Linked DNA regions of Homo sapiens: region 2 is linked to region 1. Evidence: promoter capture Hi-C in 16 types of primary human blood cells and fetal thymus (Javierre and others, 2016). All regions are on one chromosome and are shown on one strand. Each heading gives the region's core, a stretch centred on a gene start or on the middle of the fragment in contact. The rest is flanking DNA. Distances are from core to core; before and after follow the strand shown. Region 1 holds the start of MORC4 (MORC family CW-type zinc finger 4). Region 2 overlaps VSIG1 (V-set and immunoglobulin domain containing 1).

The links. Contacts are between HindIII fragments. The CHiCAGO score rates a contact against its expected background, and 5 or more counts as called.
Region 2: a contact is called between a fragment that was not itself captured here and the fragment with the promoter of MORC4 in region 1, in 1 of 17 cell types (naive CD4 T cells). The highest score is 7.2, in naive CD4 T cells.

The regions. Positions count from the first base shown.
Region 1 is chrX:106,998,311-107,003,629 of GRCh38, forward strand. It overlaps MORC4 (MORC family CW-type zinc finger 4), which reads right to left and starts at 1,902. Exons shown (of 17, transcript NM_024657.5): 1 at 1,558-1,902; 2 at 1,367-1,439. The coding sequence starts at 1,659. RefSeq lists silencers at 1,667-1,876, 1,887-1,966. The HindIII fragment of the contact is 4,977 bases long and covers 1-4,832 here.
Region 2 is chrX:108,073,603-108,079,530 of GRCh38, forward strand. VSIG1 (V-set and immunoglobulin domain containing 1) reads left to right here. Exons shown (of 7, transcript NM_182607.5): 6 at 2,475-2,616; 7 at 3,446-5,582. The coding sequence ends at 3,779. Among named protein-coding and RNA genes, the nearest start is that of PSMD10, 15 kb to the right of the region's middle. The HindIII fragment of the contact is 7,715 bases long and covers 1-5,361 here.

The DNA.
Region 1 (5,319 bases), core at 652-3,151:
CATACTGGACGTCTTAGATCCGGCTTAGGTTCTTTAAGGTAATGCTTATGGCCAAAATCACAAATATCCAAAATTACAAATTGGAAACTCATTAAATCACCTGGAAAGTACAGTAAGCACAGCACAGGTATATCACGTTCTGCACCGTGCCAACCATGAGAGAACAATACATTTCGCTTTCCCATCCCCCACTATGTAAATCACTACTTTTTGCTCCCTTGTAGTCTTTCTTGTAAATTACATACTTAACTTGGATTGTATTCCATTCTGCAGAGGTTCAGTGCACAGCCCCAAGGCACAGTACCAAACCTCAAAGATACAGTCCCTCTGCTCTAGGGTTCCAAACGTATCAATTCCACTTTTTGCCTTTCACCTTCTAATTAAATTACACATATTGTAAAGCATTCCGTGTTATGGTTAATCATCAAAGGTCTCTATCATTCTTATCACCCTTCCAAGTAAGTCCCCTGCTACCCATTGACTTCTTACCCAAGATAACTCTCATGGCATGGCCACAGCGACTGCTTAAGTAGAGACCGGGGTTCATTTGGGGAGCTTTGAAAACATTTTCAAGAGTTTGTTCTGTGCAACCTTGCCCATAAACACTTCTTCCTTCTTTCGATTTTCAAAGCATGTATAATGCGCCCTGTATGCTGCTGCGTTTTGTGCAGGACTGCGTTTCTTCTTTGCTTTCCACACAGTAGCACACTACTGCAAAAACTGGTGTAATTGGCTTGAAGGGATCAACTGAAAACACTTTAAAAGCAAACACCGGTGGAGCGAGAGGTTAAGTCCTCAATATTCATTCCAGCGGTGTGAGGGCGCTCGTGGACCACGGACCCAGCCCTCCGCAGTAGCAGGGAGCCAAATGCACTCGTGTCATCTCTTAAGAGATGTCCCATCATTCCTAACTTTTCTTGTCTCAAAAGTTAAGGAACTCCGCTTTCCAGACCTTTCCCCAGGACCCGCCTCGGTCCTCTACGCCCCTTTGCTAGCTAGGCATCCTCCGTCGGTCGCCAGCCCCTGCGGACCCAGCTGCCTCAGGGCCCGAGGTTTTTATGCATCTCCTTTTGATTACTAACTAAGCTATCCTAAAGTGCCCGAACGTCACGAGCGCGAGAGAAAAACCACACTGGTGTCTTTAACGCTTCAGACACACCTCGTTTCCTCCGTTTTATGAGCGGAACCTAGTTCCTGGCGAGAGAGCCATCCCCCTCCTCCGCCTGCGGAGCCGGGGCCGGTTCCGAGGCCCCCACCCCAGCCCCGGCCCGCCCCGCGCGGCTCTGCGCATTCCTCTCGCGTCCGCGGCACCACGCTGGCACCACTGCCTCGGGCGAACACGGCCGGGCCCGCCCTCGCCACTCACCTAGCAGCTCCGCGATGGCACTGAAGGGTCGCGTGTGGCTGCTGGAGTTGCTCTGGAGGTAGCGGGGGCTCATCTGGGGGCGAGAGAAGGTCCCGACCCGCGTGAGGCCTCGGCCCGCCGGGCCCTCCCCGCGCGCCCCCCGCAGCCCAGGGGCCCGCGCGCGCGTCCGCCCCCTCGGGCCCCGGACCTACCGTGCTCAGGCGGATCCCGAAGGCCTGCGGGCCGCCGCCGGGCCGGGCCAGCCCGCAGCCCGGCGCGCCAGGGCCGGCGGGGGCCCCTCGGTACAGGAGCATTTTTTTGGCCGCCACGGTACCCGTCTGCTGCCGCCGGACCCCTGGCCCGGCGGTCCGGGACTAGCCCTCGCTCACTTCCACTCGCAGCTGGCGGCGACCGTCCGGGACCGGCCCTCCCTCGCTCCCACTCGCAGCTGGCGGAGGCGGAGCGCGCTCCAGCCACCTGTCCCGGGCGGGAGGGGTGAGGCCGGCTGAGGCAAGCGGCGGCTCCGCCCTGTCAGCACCTCTACCGACCCGGCGACTGCCCGGGCTGCCTCTGGGCCGTACAGAAATATGGCGACCTCCTGACAGCCGCTCCTTGATCCCCGCCCCTAATTAATTATTGGCGTATGCCATAGGCCAGGCCGCCGAGCGGGAAAGCGCGGGGGGCGGGGGTGGCGCGTGGGGAGGGGCGTGAATGAAGCAAGAGGAGGGAGAGCATGTATGGGATTTCTGGAACCTAGTCCCGCTTAGGCTGCATGACTAACAGGCAAGATAAGACAAGTCTTTCAAGTTCTAAAGACTACAGTGTTGCTATCTGGGAAGATAGCAAGCTCGCCTGATGGGAAAACATTCTACCTACTCTGCCTCAAATGCCTCCAGAAGCACCCAGAACTTTCTGGAAGGCAATTAGCAAACTATCTCCAAAGTCTTGCTAGCATGCAGGGACGGTGTTTCTAAAAGGAGAAATTGGATTCACTTAAATACCGCCAAGTAGGGGATTGGTCGAGTTATGAAGTATGCATAAAATGAAATACCATCCAGTTCTTGAAGGCCATGTTTGTAGATAAGTATGTGTTGATGTAGAAAAATATTCATGAAGGAATGAAGAAAACAAGGAGTTACAACATATTGTGGAACGCATGATGCCTTTTCTATTGGAAAAACAAATATATATGTATACATATATACATATATATATATGCATGCATACACACATATACACATACATACATACATATATATATACACACACACACACACAACGAAAACCACTTGATATACACCAAGATGATATCTCTGGGTCTGGAACTAGACACTTTTTCCTTTTTTCTTACCTGTGTTTTCTAATATACTATAAATATACACTGATAATAGAAAAACAGATTCATTAAAAACATATGTAATGTTCTATGGCATGAATGAACTATAATTTATTTGACCATTCCTTTATGGTAATTTAGGTTGTCCTCTTTTTTTAATTTTGACAATACAAAAAATGCTCCTTCACACACTCGTGTACAGGTCATTAATTTCTGATACTGTTATCTCCACAGAATGAATTCCAAAAGATGAGACTGCTGCATCTAATAGCATGTGCATGGTTTAATCTTAATAAATACTGTAAGATAGGCAATTTGCCCTCCCAGCAACAATCAGTGCTCTTTTGTCATGTTCATAGCACTAGATGGTCCCAATCTTTTAACTTTTTGATAGTCTTTTCAATAAAAAATAGTATCTCCTTATTGTTTTAATTTGCATTTTCCTGACTACCAGTAAGGCTGAATATCTTTTCAAATGTTTAGTATACATTTGCATCTCCTCTTCTACAAATGCCTGTTTATGTCCTTTGAGCATCATTTTTTACCCCCATTGGGTGCTTTACATTTGTCTGTTTTTTAGTTATCTTTTCTTCAATTTTTTAAAATACACAAAAGTACAGAAAACAATATAATGAATCCCATGTACTTATTACTCAGATGCAGTAATTATCAAGACTGCCACACCTGCTGCAATGGACTGAACATTTGTGCCCCGCCAAAATTTGTATGTTGAAATCCTAACTCCCAATATGATGGTATTAGGTATTGGGATTAGGAGTTGGGGCCTTTGCCAAGTAATTAGGTCATAAGGGTGGAACCCTCATGATGGGATTAGTGCCTCATAAAAAGGACCCCAGAAAGCTCTCTCATCCTCTTTCTTCCATGAGGACTCAAGAAAGGGTCTGAATTCTGCAACCCAGAAGAGAGACCGTACCAGAACCTGATCATCTGCTGTTAATACGCAACCTAGTCTATGGTACTTTGTTAACAGCAGCCAGATCTGACTAAGGCACTTGTTTTCTATATCCCTTTTCTTCTTTTTCTTTTTCTTTTCTTTTTTTTTTTTTTCCATTTCTGTAAGCTGTGAGCATTTCAGGGCAAATCTCAAACATCATGCCATTTTATTTTACATACTTCAGTGTTCTTTAGAAACATGGACATTTTCTAACAAACATAACCACCATGCCACTTTTATACCAAACAAAATTTATACTAATTCTTTGTTGTCTTCTAATACCCAGACTTTTTTTTTTTTTTTTTTTTTTTTGAGACAGGGCCTTGCTGTGTCACCCAGGCTTTAGTGCAGTGGTACGATCTTGGCTCACTGCAGCCTTGACCTCCTGGGACCAAGCAATCCTCCCAACTCAGCTTCCTGAGTAGCTGGGGCTACAGGCACATGCCATCACACCCAGGTCATTTTTTTACTTTTTATATTTTCTAGAGACGAGGTTTTGCCACGTTGCCCAGGCTGGTCTCAAGCTCCTGGGCTCATGCAATCTACCTGATTTGGCCTCCCAAAGTGCTGGGATTACAGGCGCAAGCCACTTTGCTTGGCCCAGTCCATATTCAGATTTCCCCCAATTGTCTCGGAAATGTCTGCTTACAGTTGGTTTGTTTAAATCTAGACTCCAAGTGCACACATTGCACGTGGTTATGTGTCTTAAATCCATTTCAATCTAAAAGTCTCCCCTCTCTTTTTTTTTTATTCATGTTATTGATTTTTTTTTTTTTTTTTTTTGTAGAGATGGGTTCTCCCCATGTTGCCCAGGCTGCTCTTGGACTCCTGGGCTCAAGTGATCCTCCCACCTCGGCCTCCCAAAGTGCTGGGATTACACGTGTGAGCCATCATGCCCAACCCCTTGAGTTGTTGAAGAAACCAAGACAGTTGGACTGTTGAATGCCCTACATTTTCATTTGTCTGTTTGCTTCTTCATGTTACTTAACTTGCTCCTCTTGTTACAGGAAAAAGTGTAACTTAACTATAAACCATAAATTGTCTCTAGAGTCTTAGAGTCTAGTACAATGTTTTCTAAATAGGAATGCTCATAGATGGTGCTGTATAGTTCCCATTGCATCACATCAGGGAATACATACTGTGCAACACTTAGACATGTTCAGATTCATTGGTGACTTCAGGGAGAGGCAGCCTGAAGCTTCCACTATAAATTTCTCCACCATCCTTTTACTTCATGGTTTCATTGTCTGAAAAAAATATGTTATTAGGACTGCAAAATTATGATAGTCAATCTCATAATTTCTTCTAATTTATTAACTGGATCATTCTGTATAGAACTTACCTTCATCAACCATGGCTATTTGGCTAATCTGAAATACAATTTATATAGGAAGGACATGATAAATGCTTAACTCTTTACTTTTAATTGGCAATTTTTAATGTAAAGAGATGATGCCTGTGATGGATACTGTGATGCGTCAGCCCACCTCTCATTTCAATAAAAGACTTGTTGGCTGAGCTGCTGGGAGAAATGTTGACAGACTGCCTTCAGCTGTTAGCCCTTCAGGGATTGCTTCAGGTAATCTCTGCCTTACCCAAGGTCACAGACTTTTCTGGGACAGCCTACAGTAACTGACCAAAGAGGGGGTATAAAGACCTGACTGTCTCAACCCAATTTGGGAC
Region 2 (5,928 bases), core at 254-2,753, 1.1 Mb after region 1:
AAATCGCTAGAAGGTAGGTATTACTATTCAATACTAAAAAAGAAGCCTTTCTGATAACAGCAGGCTGAATTTCTCTTTGTGATGCTGTTGGTAAATCCAGGTGACACTGTAGCTCTGACAAACATATACCTTGCAAAGATCTGCCACTAATAATAATAGTATTATAATAATAACACTCGTACCCACAATCACGGTAGCTACTATTTGTGGAGCATGAATTATGCTGAGTATTATCTCACTCTTTCCTCCCAACCACCCCTATCTAGGGAGGCAGACTATTGTCGGCCTCATTTTGCTGAAAAGAACACTGAAGCTCAGGGAAGTAAATGACTTGCCCAAGGTCATCCAGTTAGTAACTGGCAGAGCCAGGATGCCTCTAAACCTCAATTTTCCTATTCGAAGGTGCTTACTCACTCTCTGAGTGTAAGATTTAAGACTCCTGGAATTGTCCAATTGAGCTGACCCAGGGGCAACTCCTCACAAGGAATATCTCACCAAACATCTCAAGGATCACTTAATAACACTTAGGATCTTTTTTCAAACTTACTTTGAATTTGTGATTTTAATATATGCCATATCCAGGGATGGCAAGTTCCAGTGGGTTTTTGCTCTTCCTATGCACCTGAACTTTCTTCCTTTTATTTCTCCTGAAGTTTGCTCCTTTATTCTCATATCACTTTCAGCTATATTTCCTGCATCATTTCTGTTATCTTTCTTTAGAATTCCCTCAATATCTTTTTGCCTTCTCAGAGGTACAATCATACTGCAGATGTAGAGATATGTAGGATTTGGACTTGAGCATTGCTTCCTTTCTAGTCTTTTTTCCAATGATGTCCAGCACTGCCTTCCTCTCTCCCTCCCACATCCCTTCTTTCTTCCTTCCTTCCTCAAATATTTATTGAATATCTACTGTGTTCCAGGGACTGTCCTAGGTGATAAAGATACAGAGATAAAGAAGATGTATGTCCTATACTCAAGGAGCTCACAGTTCAGCTAGAGGGACAAACACAACTAAAACATGCTAAATCCTATAATAGAAGTCTGAACAGGGTCTATAGAGCACCAAGGGAGGAAAATTATGCTTATAGAACTGGGATGGCTTTACCAACAAAGTGCTATTTGAGCAGGATCTTGAAGGAACTTGCAAAGCCTCATCATCTATAAAATGGGAAAGCTGAAGCATGACGGTAGAGCAGCAGGCTTAGGAGAGCAACCAGGTCATGATGGGGGAAGAGAATGGAGGGCTTCACATGGCATGTCTCTGAGGGAAAAATCACAAGAAACTGATATATCATCTGATATGTTTGAATCAATTGAAAGAAGTTTAATGGTTTTGTTGGAAATTTCGGGATGAGTGATAATGCATTTATTAATCCCCAAATGAAGCAATTATTAACCTCCGGGAAAATTTTTGTAAATGTTGTACAAGAAAGAATCATAGTATACTGTGTTCCTCAGCTGTGAACAATATTTATATAGCCATACTACTGCAAACTTGGATTTAACTAAAACTTGTGATATAACTATTTTGGAAGAACATGGTGGGTGTGAGGGGAGTGGTGTAAAAGAGCTCAATCTCCAACTTCTAGGGTACGAAGTTGAAAGAAAATGATGGAATGGAAAAAAGGTAGGACATATCAGAGCAAACATAATAAAAACATGGGGGCAAGAAGACTTTTAAAAAGAGTTAAGAGTGGTTGCCTTTCGTGAATGGGACTCAGAAACGGGAAGGAGTCGGGCAGGGAACTGCTGTTTTTGTGAGACATGTAGTAGAACTATTTGACTTTTTAAACTATTTACTTATATTCTCTTAATCATAAAAAGTTAAAGGAATTATTATCAGGCAGCTCAAAATATAAGGTGTCCATCCTTGTGTGAGGGGAGGCAGATGGGGTTGGGTTGGCTTATAACCCAGATGTGGTCTTCCAGAGACAACACCTCAGGGCTTGAAGGTCTGGTGCTCAGCTGGATAATGTCCCACTCATTAAGTTTGTCCATAGACCGAGACAATAAACCAGATGCCTGTTTATCAAAATGGGCATATCACTTCCCAGTGACCAGAGTGCATGAGGTTCCTTCGTAAGCATTGACGCCATGGGGGAGGTTTTTAGGGACCAATTTCACCTGTGCTCTGGGAAAGCCTAGTGAAATGTTCCTGCCTGTAACAGAGGCTTATCTCTAGTGACCAGATCACAACTCCATGGTGTCTCAAGACTCTTTTCTCTAAATCCCATTTCAAAAGCAACCCCACCTCCTCCAAGTTGGCCACATTTTATTCTTTATGTGCACAAATGTCAATAGTCTTCTCCCACTGTGAGTCCAAATGACAGAGTTCTAGGGGTTTCCATTTCCCTAGCCTATACAAGTCATTTTCCCACTATGTGAATGGCCCTGATATTCCCCACTAGTCACAAACACACATTATAAAATGACAATATATTCCACTTTATTAACCAGCTGCTTGTATCCTTCAGATCCAGAAGTTGGAATCATTGTTGGGGCCTTGATTGGTAGCCTGGTAGGTGCCGCCATCATCATCTCTGTTGTGTGCTTCGCAAGGAATAAGGCAAAAGCAAAGGCAAAAGAAAGAAATTCTAAGACCATCGCGGAACTTGAGTAAGCCTTCATTTTGTTGTCTTTACTTGAATACAAACATTTCTCAGGCATGTCTTTTTCAGTCATCAATTCCTAAGCACTCCTTTTAGTATAAGATATCAGAGGTATCTTTCTGTTTACTCTCATTGAATTTAAAAAAGAATGATGATGGCTGCTATTTATTGAGTGCTGTGTGCCAGGCTCTGTTCTAAGCACTTTATGTACATCAACTCATTTAGCTATCACAACAGTTTTAGGTCCAAGAAAACATTTTCATATATAATACTAACATACTTGTCTTAATACCAACATAGTCATGAAATATAATTTTAAATTTTTTTATGGAACAAGAGACCCACAAGGACAGTGCCCAGGGAACACAGAAGTTAGAATGTGGCCCAGCCCACAGCTCATGCTCTTAATCACTCTATTTCTTTCCTAGTGTGTATCTCACTCATTCATTTTTTTTCATCTCCTTGCTTCTACAACTATCTATTGGGTATCAACCAGGTGCCAAGTATTGTACTAGATGGAGTGAGAAATAGCGATACATCAGAGCTATGAATTTGGACCTTAAAGACCTTATTAGATTCTTAGACTCTTTCATTCTGACATTATTTTCCCACCTTGAAACACTGCTCTTTCTTAAACTTTCATGATATTGTTGAGACCTAACCTTTCTGAATCCAAAATGACCTATGGCCTGACAATGAGTCAGAATATCAGAAATAACAGATTTCCTGAAGTCTGGGACCTATGGTCATTGAAGCTACAGAACATATGGTTTCACATGAAATTTCAAAGTTAGCATCTCCCTAACTTGTTCTTTTCTGGGCCTTCTTTCTTGCAGGCCAATGACAAAGATAAACCCAAGGGGAGAAAGCGAAGCAATGCCAAGAGAAGACGCTACCCAACTAGAAGTAACTCTACCATCTTCCATTCATGAGACTGGCCCTGATACCATCCAAGAACCAGACTATGAGCCAAAGCCTACTCAGGAGCCTGCCCCAGAGCCTGCCCCAGGATCAGAGCCTATGGCAGTGCCTGACCTTGACATCGAGCTGGAGCTGGAGCCAGAAACGCAGTCGGAATTGGAGCCAGAGCCAGAGCCAGAGCCAGAGTCAGAGCCTGGGGTTGTAGTTGAGCCCTTAAGTGAAGATGAAAAGGGAGTGGTTAAGGCATAGGCTGGTGGCCTAAGTACAGCATTAATCATTAAGGAACCCATTACTGCCATTTGGAATTCAAATAACCTAACCAACCTCCACCTCCTCCTTCCATTTTGACCAACCTTCTTCTAACAAGGTGCTCATTCCTACTATGAATCCAGAATAAACACGCCAAGATAACAGCTAAATCAGCAAGGGTTCCTGTATTACCAATATAGAATACTAACAATTTTACTAACACGTAAGCATAACAAATGACAGGGCAAGTGATTTCTAACTTAGTTGAGTTTTGCAACAGTACCTGTGTTGTTATTTCAGAAAATATTATTTCTCTCTTTTTAACTACTCTTTTTTTTTATTTTAGACAGAGTCTTGCTCCGTCGCGCAGGCTGTGATCGTAGTGGTGCGATCTCGGCTCACTGCAACCTCCGCTCCCTGGGTTCAAGCGATTCTCCTGCCTGAGCCTCCTGAGTAGCTGGGACTACAGGCACGTGCCACCACGCCCGGCTAATTTTTTGTATTTTTAGTAGAGATGGGGTTTCACGTTGTTAGCCAGGATGGTCTCCATCTCCTGACCTCATGATCCGCCCACCTTGGCCTCCCAAAATGCTGGGATTACAGGCATGAGCCACTGCGCCCGGCCTCTTTTTAGCTACTCTTATGTTCCACATGCACATATGACAAGGTGGCATTAATTAGATTCAATATTATTTCTAGGAATAGTTCCTCATTCATTTTTATATTGACCACTAAGAAAATAATTCATCAGCATTATCTCATAGATTGGAAAATTTTCTCCAAATACAATAGAGGAGAATATGTAAAGGGTATACATTAATTGGTACGTAGCATTTAAAATCAGGTCTTATAATTAATGCTTCATTCCTCATATTAGATTTCCCAAGAAATCACCCTGGTATCCAATATCTGAGCATGGCAAATTTAAAAAATAACACAATTTCTTGCCTGTAACCCTAGCACTTTGGGAGGCCGAGGCAGGTGGATCACCTGAGGTCAGGAGTTCGAGACCAGCCTGGCCAACATGGCGAAACCCCTTCTCTACTAAAAATACAAAAATTAGCTGGGCGTGGTAGTGCATGCCTGTAATCCCAGCTACTTGGGAGGCTGAGGCAGGAGAATCGCTTGAACCCAGGAGGTGGAGGTTGCAGTGAGCCGAGATTGTGCCACTGCACTCCAACCTGGGTGACAGAGTGAGATTCCATCTGAAAAACAAAAACAAAAACAGAAAACAAACAAACAAAAAACAAAAAATCCCCACAACTTTGTCAAATAATGTACAGGCAAACACTTTCAAATATAATTTCCTTCAGTGAATACAAAATGTTGATATCATAGGTGATGTACAATTTAGTTTTGAATGAGTTATTATGTTATCACTGTGTCTGATGTTATCTACTTTGAAAGGCAGTCCAGAAAAGTGTTCTAAGTGAACTCTTAAGATCTATTTTAGATAATTTCAACTAATTAAATAACCTGTTTTACTGCCTGTACATTCCACATTAATAAAGCGATACCAATCTTATATGAATGCTAATATTACTAAAATGCACTGATATCACTTCTTCTTCCCCTGTTGAAAAGCTTTCTCATGATCATATTTCACCCACATCTCACCTTGAAGAAACTTACAGGTAGACTTACCTTTTCACTTGTGGAATTAATCATATTTAAATCTTACTTTAAGGCTCAATAAATAATACTCATAATGTCTCATTTTAGTGACTCCTAAGGCTAGTCCTTTTATAAACAACTTTTTCTGACATAGCATTTATGTATAATAAACCAGACATTTAAAGTGTACAATTTGATGAGTTTTGACAGAGCACATACCCATGAAACCACCACACCCATCTAGAGAGAAAACATTTCCATCAGCCCAAAATGTTTCTTCATGCCCCTTTGTGCGATCCCACCATTGCCCTGGACCTAGGAAATCACTCATTGTTTTCCATCACTAGAGGTTAACTTTGCCTTTTCTTGGCCCTCATACATATGGGATGATACAGTATGTACTTTTTGTGTCTCACTTCCTTCTAAGGTGAATCCTTTTTAAACAAAGTAGTGAGTTTCTCATTTATCACTTTCAGATTTTCATGTAAAATATTTTCTTAAACTGCAAACTCCTTTCTATATAAATCATAACCAT